Linked DNA regions of Homo sapiens: region 1 is linked to region 2. The links are contacts of gene promoters, found by promoter capture Hi-C in blood cells and fetal thymus (Javierre and others, 2016). All regions are on one chromosome and are shown on one strand. Each heading gives the region's core, a stretch centred on a gene start or on the middle of the fragment in contact. The rest is flanking DNA. Distances are from core to core; before and after follow the strand shown. Region 1 overlaps DHRS1 (dehydrogenase/reductase 1). Region 2 holds the start of REC8 (REC8 meiotic recombination protein).

What was found. The method cuts DNA at HindIII sites, captures the fragments that hold promoters and counts their contacts. A CHiCAGO score of 5 or more calls a contact.
Region 1: a fragment that was not itself captured here is called in contact with the fragment with the promoter of REC8 in region 2 in 16 of 17 cell types (activated CD4 T cells, neutrophils, monocytes and 13 more); the score reaches 16.7 in activated CD4 T cells.

The regions. Positions count from the first base shown.
Region 1 is chr14:24,290,358-24,294,803 of GRCh38, reverse strand. DHRS1 (dehydrogenase/reductase 1) reads left to right here. Exons shown (of 9, transcript NM_001136050.3): 5 at 2,020-2,152; 6 at 2,474-2,620; 7 at 3,179-3,248; 8 at 3,585-3,665; 9 at 3,809-4,206. The coding sequence ends at 3,945. It also overlaps a transcript of NOP9 not described here. Among named protein-coding and RNA genes, the nearest start is that of DHRS1, 7.2 kb to the left of the region's middle. The HindIII fragment of the contact is 4,352 bases long and covers 1-4,288 here.
Region 2 is chr14:24,169,466-24,174,011 of GRCh38, reverse strand. REC8 (REC8 meiotic recombination protein) reads right to left here and starts at 1,932. Exons shown (of 19, transcript NM_001048205.2): 1 at 1,404-1,932; 2 at 1,231-1,299; 3 at 971-1,113; 4 at 814-886; 5 at 601-721. The coding sequence starts at 1,459. RefSeq lists enhancers at 1,702-1,951, 2,020-2,520 and a silencer at 2,122-2,171. The HindIII fragment of the contact is 5,740 bases long and covers 512-4,546 here.

The DNA.
Region 1 (4,446 bases), core at 863-3,362, 120 kb before region 2:
CAGGTTGAACTTTTTTTCCCCTTTGTTTATTGGCTCTTTGTTCTTTTGTAAATCATCTTTGACTTTCGCATTAATTTATAAGAGATCACTGTGAAACAAATGACTTTGGCATTTATTTTACAAATATTTTTCCCAATTTATCACTCATTTTTCACACGCATACTCCCCCCACTCGTCTGTTGTTGTTGTTGTTGTTGTTGTTGTTGTTGTTGTTTTGAGGTGGAATCTCGCTCTGTCACCCAGGCTAGAGTGCAGTGTGCAATCTCAGCTCACTGCAACCTCTGCCTCCTGGGTTCAAGCGATTCTCATACCTCAACCTCCCGAGTAGCTGGGATTACAGGCACCTGCCACCACGCCTGGCTAATTTTTGTATTTTTAGTAGAGAACGGGGTTTCACCGTGTTGGCTGGGCTGGTCTCGAACTCCTGATCTCAAGTGATCTACCCACCTCAGCCTCCCAAAGTGTTGGGATTATAGGCATGAGCCACCATACTCAGCCTCGCCCTGCTCTTTATATACACAGAAATATACATGTATCTTTGTATTTGTGTGTGTATGTGTGTGTATCTTAATTTTACGTCAAATCTGTCAGTCTTTTATAGTTTCTGTCTTGGTGTGACGCTAATAAAAGCCTTTTCCCTCAAGTTTATAAACACATTTGATCATGTTTTCTTTCAGTACTTCTGTGCTTTCGTTTTTTATATTTAAATATTTGATCCTTTTAGGCTTAATTTTAAAATAATAAACGAGGCAGAGACCCAATTCCCCTAACTCAAATAACTGGTCGGTTGTCCCAAATGATCCAACTTTCCCCCACTGATTTGACAGGTTCCTTTCGTAATACATTGCGTTCTCACATACACTTGTATCTAATTATTCTCTGTTTTGTTTCATTGACTTATCAGTCTACTGTTAACACCTGTATTGCATTCTTTTAACTATTATGTCTTGTACATTTTAATTTATTTTATTTTATTTTTTAGAGACGGGGTCTTGCTGTGTTGGCCAGGCTGGTCTCAAACTCCTGACCTCAAGCAATTCTCCCATCTCAGCCTCCCAAAATGCTGGGATTACAGGCATAAGCCACCATGCCTGGCCCCTGTGCATTTTAATATGGGTGACAGCAGGGGTAGGGAAAGCAATCCCCCTCACCCACAAGACATTAGTCTTTTTAGTCCTTTTTTCGGAATTTTCCTGGCTGTTCTCTTTCTTTTTATTTATTTATTTATTTTTGAGACAATCTCACTCTGTCAGCCAGGCTAGAGTGCAGTGGCACAATCTCAGCTTACTGCAACCTCCGCCTCCTGGGCTCAAGAGATCCTCCTGCCTCAGGCTCCCGAGTAGCTGGGACTATAGGCACGTACCACCACACCTGGCTAATTTTTGTATTTTTAGTACAGATGGGCTTTCACCACGTTGGCCAGGCTGGTCTCAAACTCCTGAGCTCAAGTGATCTGCCCCCCTCGCCTCCCAAAGTGCTGGGATTGCAGGCGTGAGCCACCGTGCCCAGCTTTTCTGGCTGTTCTCACGTTTATTCTTCTCATTGAGCTTTAGATTATTTTATCAATTCCTCCAAAAGGTCTTATTGAGCTATAATCCAATTTGACTGAATCTATGGATTGATTTACATAGAAATGATGATTTACATGTCAGTTCTTAGCTTTGAAAGATTTTGTCTGTACTTATTGTCATGGTTTTATAGTTTTTCTATGTAGACACTATACATTTCTTAAGTTTTCTCCCCCTGAACAATTTTGTTTGTAATTGTTATTGTGACAGGGCTCTTGCGTTCCATTTCTTCTTCCAAAGATTGCTGTTTCTCATCTGTCAGTGGTTATTTTGACCAGTTTTCCTCTCAGAATATGGCCTCAAGCCCCTAATTCCTCAGGTCGCTAACCCACCCTGTGTAGCCTTCCTAGTGGACAACAACCACCAGAAGGCAGGGGAAGCCGCCAGAGGCTGTGGCACCCAGGCCAGCACTAACACGGTTCATTCCTTCTTCCCTTGCCCCACCTTCTAGAGGCCACTACTTTTGCTCAGTGTATGGGGCACGGCTGATGGTACCAGCTGGCCAGGGGCTCATCGTGGTCATCTCCTCCCCAGGAAGCCTGCAGTATATGTTCAATGTCCCCTATGGTGTGGGCAAAGCTGCGGTGAGGACCCAGTGGCATAGGAGCTGAGGAGGTAAAAGACAGTGATGTTACCTATAGCTCAGGAGGTACAATCCCCAGTGGTCAGAATGGTAAGGCTGGCTCCTCTCAGCTCCTCCTCTGCCTCATCCATGGACAGTTCCTTTGCTTGTGCTCCTCTTGGTTGGCTAGAGTAGGCATCACACTGGGGAGCGTGGGCAGCTGAGACCTTGGGGCTCCTGGGAAGGACAGGGTGGGTGGAGCATTCACAGTAGAAGCAGAGAGGGCAGGGCAGGAAAGTGACATGGCTAGGTGGCTCTTACCCTGCCTTCCGCCTCTCCACAGTGTGACAAGCTGGCTGCTGACTGTGCCCACGAGCTGCGGCGCCATGGGGTCAGCTGTGTGTCTCTGTGGCCGGGGATTGTGCAGACAGAACTGCTGAAGGAGCATATGGCAAAGGAGGAGGTCCTGCAGGATCCTGTGTTGAAGCAGGTTGGCAAGGGGAGGGCGAAGGAAGCAGAGAACAGGGGAGTCGGCCTCTGCATCCTCAATAACAAGATCAGATACTCCCACTCACCAGGTGCTTACTGTGGCAGGTGCAGGGCTGAGCATGGGACACACATTATTTCCTTTAATCCTGTAAGGGAGATACCAGCTCCATTCTACAGATGGCAAAACTGAAACCCAGAGAGGTTTAGAAACTTGTTGAAGGTCACATATGTCCTAAGTGGAAAGGCTGTCTAGCTCCAAAGACCATGCACTTGACCCCCACACCAGCTAGCTTAGAAGGTCCAAACACTATTTGGCACTACCAGATCCTTCCACTTAGCAAAGACAGCAGATCCTGGTGCCAGGGCACAGGGCTCACCTGGATGTGGGGAGGAGTGGCTCTGGCACCTGCCAATACTTTGGGTCCTACAGGCCCTGCTTGAGGTCTTTGGCCTCTTTGGTCTTTGGTCTTTTTCTCCTGGAACAGAAGTTGAAATGGGGAGGAGACCTGGGCAGTGCTCTTGGAAATTAACCCTTCACTTCTCTGCCCCTGTGTTTCAGTTCAAATCAGCCTTCTCATCTGCGGAAACCACAGAATTGAGTGGCAAATGTGTGGTGGCTTTGGCAACAGGTGAAGTTTGGGGGCAGCTGGTAATAAGAAAGGGCATGGAGGATGTGTAGTGCGGTAGCATCCAGTGCCCAGATCTGGCTCGGGAGTTGGTTGAGGAACATGTCATTCTTTTCTCTGCTTTTTGAGGCCCAAGGGGTCAGCATTCCCAGTTTGAGGTCTGAGAGCCTTAGGAGCAGGCTCCTGGGAAGTGTGGAAAAAGTCCAAGGCCCAAGAGAAAGAGCTCTCCAGGGATCCTGAGCTCCAGGGCTCTCAGCAGTGCCCTGTCCAACTGGGCCCAAACCTTGTCACTCTGCATACTCCCCTGCCTGCCATCTCCACCTGTCTGTGTGCCCGCAGATCCCAATATCCTGAGCCTGAGTGGTAAGGTGCTGCCATCCTGTGACCTTGCTCGACGCTATGGCCTTCGGGATGTGGACGGTGAGGACCCTGGCACAGCAGTCAGCCTTGACTGCTGTTCCCTCTGTTCCCTGCCCACTCCTCCCTCGGTCTCTCCAGCCAAGGTGAGGGTATCTGAGGAGTGGGAAATGAGAATCTAATCCTCCTCCTCCTGTTGTTCCCAGGCCGCCCCGTCCAAGACTATTTGTCTTTGAGCTCTGTTCTCTCACACGTGTCCGGCCTGGGCTGGCTGGCCTCCTACCTGCCCTCCTTCCTCCGTGTGCCCAAGTGGATTATTGCCCTCTACACTAGCAAGTTCTAACCCTCCTGGTCTGACACTACGTCTCTGCTTGTCTTCTCATTTGGACTTGGTGGTTCGTCCTGTCTCAGTGAAACAGCAGCCTTTCTTGTTTACCCATACCCTTGATATGAAGAGAAGCCCTCTGCTGTGTGTCCGTGGTGAGTTCTGGGGTGCGCCTAGGTCCCTTCTTTGTGCCTTGGTTTTCCTTGTCCTTCTTTTTACTTTTTGCCTTAGTATTGAAAAATGCTCTTGGAGCTAATAAAAGTCTCATTTCTCTTTCAATGTGTTTTTGACTGCTGATTCTCTGCTCAGCAACATGTTAACAATTTGGGAGAAAGACTCAAAGATGTATAAATGTGAAGCTTCTCAAGGGGTTCTGCCCCAGGACAAGACCCCTTTCCTCCAGAACTGTTCCTGCTCTGCCCTGCAAGACCTGTTTCCCATGCCCCAGCTGAGGAGCAGAGTCGCTCCACAGCTAGAAGTGGGCACATCCAGTCTCACACTGGTTTTCCACCCCCATTC
Region 2 (4,546 bases), core at 683-3,182:
TGCCTGTAGTCCCAGCTACTCGGGAGGCTGAGGCAGGAGAATTGCTTGAACCGGGGAGGCAGAGGTTGCAGTAAGCTGAGATCGTGCCACTGCACTCCAGCCTGGGCCACAGAGCAAGATCCTGTCTCAAAAATAATAATAATAATAGTAATAAAATAAAAAAAGAAATAAATGGGGCATGGAGAGCCCCAAATGCTAGTAATCTGTTTGCAGCAGGAGCCACTGTTCAAATGGGGAACCAAGGAAGGGGGTGACATTAAGCTGTAGGAGTATTGGGAATAGATGGAGGAGGACAGGGGTAAGAAAGCCCAGTGCAGAGAGATGAGAGCCTGGATTAGGGCCTTGGCAGTGAAAACAGTGTGGAGACAAGTGGGGACAAGAGCTGCCTCCAGTGGGGAAACCGTCTGATCAGATTGGCCCTGAGTAGGTAAGTACAGGGGGCTTCGCCTGGATGGGTCCACCTTGGCAGTCCCCCTGCACCATCTCCTGTGGGAGAGAGCTGTGGTAAGCTTCCTTCCCCAACCCCAATGTCAGAGTGACACAGGGACAGCACTCCCCTTCTGCATTGCCAATTCACGAGTCTTGGGGAATGAGCCCTACCTGAGGGATATCGAAAGGACTAGGAAGTCTGGGATCCACAGACATCATCCCAAAAAAGGGATCTGGAGCATCTTCTAGGGTCTCCATCATGGCCAGGTGGTTAGGAAGCAGCAGGCTGGGTCTGGGAGAGAATGTAGGCCGTGAAGGACTGAGGCTGAGCCAGGCTGAGGCCAAGCTAGCAGGTGTTCCATCAAAGGCCCAGGGCACACTCACAGCTCAGTCTCCATATCTATTCGGATCTGCAGCTGGGCACGGTGGAGGCGCTCCAAGATGTGCTGGATGTCCTCTGTGGGCAGGGAGGACGAGGTAGACAGCCAGCTTAGCAGACAGCTGCTCAGCCCGCCCCACCTTTGAGGGTTCCCAGCCTTACCCACGAGGTACTGGCATTGTTGAGAATAGACGCGGATCACACCGATCTGAAGTTGGGCTGAGAGATAGAGGGAGAAGCGGGGCCGCGGCAGGCCGGGCTGCGGGGGTTGCACTCGTACCAGCACGTAATTGAGGATTTCCTCGCTGGGGAACAATGCGCCCTGATTACCGCTGCGTCCAGGAGTGGGCCCACAGTCTTGGCCACCCCATCCCCTAACTCACCCCCCGCACCAGGCCCTCCTTCCCTTTTCTGGGCCTTACCAGGTTTTCACCACATTCACCCTCAGGTATTCGCGCTTCACCAACCGGCTGCCGCGAGTCGCCGCCAGCCTGAAGTGGGTGGGGAAGGTGGGAGAATGGGGATGGAGGGGGAGCTGTCAGGCTGGGATCCCGGGCAGCGTCCGCCATCGCGCGCCAACGGGCCCCGCCCTTACCAGATGGTGGCAAAGCAGCCGGTGTGGCGCTGAAGCACGTTGGGATAGTAGAACATTGTCCCTCTGGTCTTTCACCCTCGATTCCACCAGATCCCCGTTCGGATCTGAGTCGGAATTCTTTAGGGCACAGAATTCCCAACACCTTGGAGAGAAGTCAGGATTTGGACTTCTCTGGTGGCAAGGTGGGTGCACCTAGAAAGCCAAGTTAATGAGGCAACGAACAATGGGCAGATACACAATTACCAGGATAACTGAGACGCAGGAGATGGGCGCCCCTCTCTGTGGACCCTCAGTGGATCCGCACGCCACGTGATGCGTCAAACTTGAGACTTCTGGGTTGGGTTCCAGGTTGGAGATGCAGAGCTCCAAGGGGACGTCCGGGCCGGAATCCAGAGCAGGTCCCGAGGGAGCACGGTGTCCTCCACAGCAGGCCTCGGTCCTCGAGCGCTGGGAGCGATGTCAGGCCCCTGGGCCTTGCACTGGCTTGGGCGGCCGCGGTGTGGCCCCGGGCCGCCTACTGCAGGACTAGATCGCACCGCGGGAAGCGAGCGCTTCGGGGCACCGCACCTCGCTCCTCATTAGATGGCGGCTTTTGCCCTGACAGCCAATGGGGAACGGGGGTCGGGTCGGGAACGCCAAGTATCCTGGCAACAGGGTCTCCCGAGGCAGCCAGCAAACCAATCATAAGGATTTTGCGCGCCGCTGGGGTCCATTGTGAGGTGTTCCGACCAATGGGCTCCGGTTCTCGCCTCTAGTAACAGGCGCCCCTTCCTTGACCAATGAGCGCATCCCCGTCGCTCCCCCGCCGCTCCCCCGCCGCAAGCCTGGCAACAAGGGCGCCTCAATTGGTAGGGGAGGTCGGGTCACCTCGGGGGCAACTGTACTGGGCCTCTTCCGGGTGCCAAGATGTACCTTGCACGGCGCCTGACCTGAGGTTAGACCCCGCCCTTCCCCCAATCCACAAACTCCGACTTTGTTTCCAACTAGGGCGTGTCGTGTGCTGCAGAGGAAGAAAGATGTGAGATGAGGCCGGGCGCAGTGGCTCACGCCTGTAATCCTAGCACTTTGGGAGGCCGAGGCGGGCGGATCATGAGGTTAGGAGTTCGAGTCCAGCCTGACCAATATGGTGAAACCCCGTCTCTATTAAAAATGCAAAAGTTAGCTGGGCGTGGTGGCACGCGCCTGTAATCCCAGCTACTCAGGAGGCTGAGGCAGGAGAATGCTTGAACCTGGGAGGCGGAGGTTGCAGTGAGCCGAGATCATGCAGCTCCACTCCAACCTGGGCAAGGGAGCAAGACTCCGTCTCAAAAAAAAAAAAAAAAAAAAAGGCTGTGAGATGATGGCCTTGGAGCCACCACAGGTCAATGAGGAAGAAGTCCATTTTTTTTTTTTTTGATGGCCTTGGAGCCACCACAGGTCAATGAGGAAGAAGTCCATTTTTTTTTTTTTTTTTTGAGATGGAGGCTCTCACTGTTGCCCAGGCTGGAATGCAGTGGCGCTATCTCGGCAATCTCGGCTCACTGCATCCTCTGCCCCCCATCCCCTCAGGTTCAAGCGATTCTCGTGTCTTGGCCTCCTGAGTAGCTGGGATTACAGGCGCCCTCCATCACACCCAACTAATTTTTGCATTTTTAGAAGAGACGGGATTTCACTATGTTGGCCAGGCTGGTTTCTTTTTTTTTTGAGATGGAGTTTCACTCTGTCACCCAGGCTGGAGTGCAGTGGCGCAGTCTCAGCTCATTGCAGCCTCCGCCTCCCCGGTGCAGGGGATTCTCCTGCCTCAGGCTCCCGAGTAGCTGGGATTACAGGCGCCCACCACCACACCTGGCTAAATTTTGTATTTTTTAGTAGAGACAGGGGTTTCACCATGTTGGCCAGGCTGGTCTCGAACTCCTGACCTCAGGTGATCCGCCCGCCTTGGCCTCCCAAAGTGCTGGGATTACAGGCGTGAGCCACTGCCCCCAGCTGAAGAAGTCAATCTTACACGAAACTCCGAAAGGACTTACTGGGGTCACTTCCTAAATCTGAACAACTTAGGTTATGGGCACGCCACGTGTGGTCCTTTCCCAGCTGTCAGTGTTCTCCCGGCTGAAATAGACTTTAGCATTTTTGGATGCAGCACAACTTCCTAGCCTGGAAAAGCCATATTCTCAACAATTATTGTGTAAATTTAAGAGGTACAGTTGTAATAATAACCCTTGTCCCTATGCCTCCTACCTTTGCACAGCCATTTCTTTGGCCTAGAATGTCCTTCTCTGCCTTGACTCCAGAGCATGCTTCTTCCTGAGACTTATATCTTACTGCAGCTGAGCTGACCCTATCTTCTTACAGTCCCCTTCAATTTGAGAGTTTTTTTTTTTTTTTTTTTTTTTTTTTTCTGAGATGGAATTTTGCTTGTCGCCCAGGCTGGAGTGCAATGGACCATCTTGGCTCAGTGCAACCTCCGCCTCCTGGGTTCAAGCAATTCTCCTACCTAAGCCTCCTGAGTAGCTGGGACTACAGGCATGTGCCACTATGCCTGGCTAATTTTTTTGTATTTTTAGTAGAGACAGGGTTTCAACCATGTTGGCCAGGCTGGTCTCAAACTCCTGACCTCAGGTGACACCCGCCTCGGCCTCTCAAATTACATGCCTATAGTCACAGCTACTCAGAAGGCTGAGACAGGAGGATCGATTGAGCCGAAGGTCGAGGCTGCAGTGAGCCATGATTGCACTGCTGTGCTCCAGCATGGGCGATTCTGTCAAAAAAAAAAAAAAAAAGAAAGAAAGAAAAAAAGAAATACATGAAGTGGCCGTAAGTGCTATGAAGAAAATGAGGCAGCATAGGAGGATAGAATAATGACGGCTGCTATTTAGGGAGGGTACTCAGGGAAGCCTTGCCCCCTCTCTTAAGAGATAAAATTTGAAGAATGTGGGTAAGTCATGTGCCTACCTGAAGGAAGAGTAATTTAGACAAAAGAACCAGCAAATGCAAAGACCCTGAGGTAGAAATGTGTTTGGTGGGTTCAAGGAGCCTGGAGCAAAGTGACAGGGGAAGAATGGCAAGGGGCGAGAGAGAGAGAGAGAGGAGGGTAGGGTCGCATCACAGGACCTCAGAGGTCCTTATGGGGATTTGGGCTTTTACCCTGGGTGATTTGGGACCCA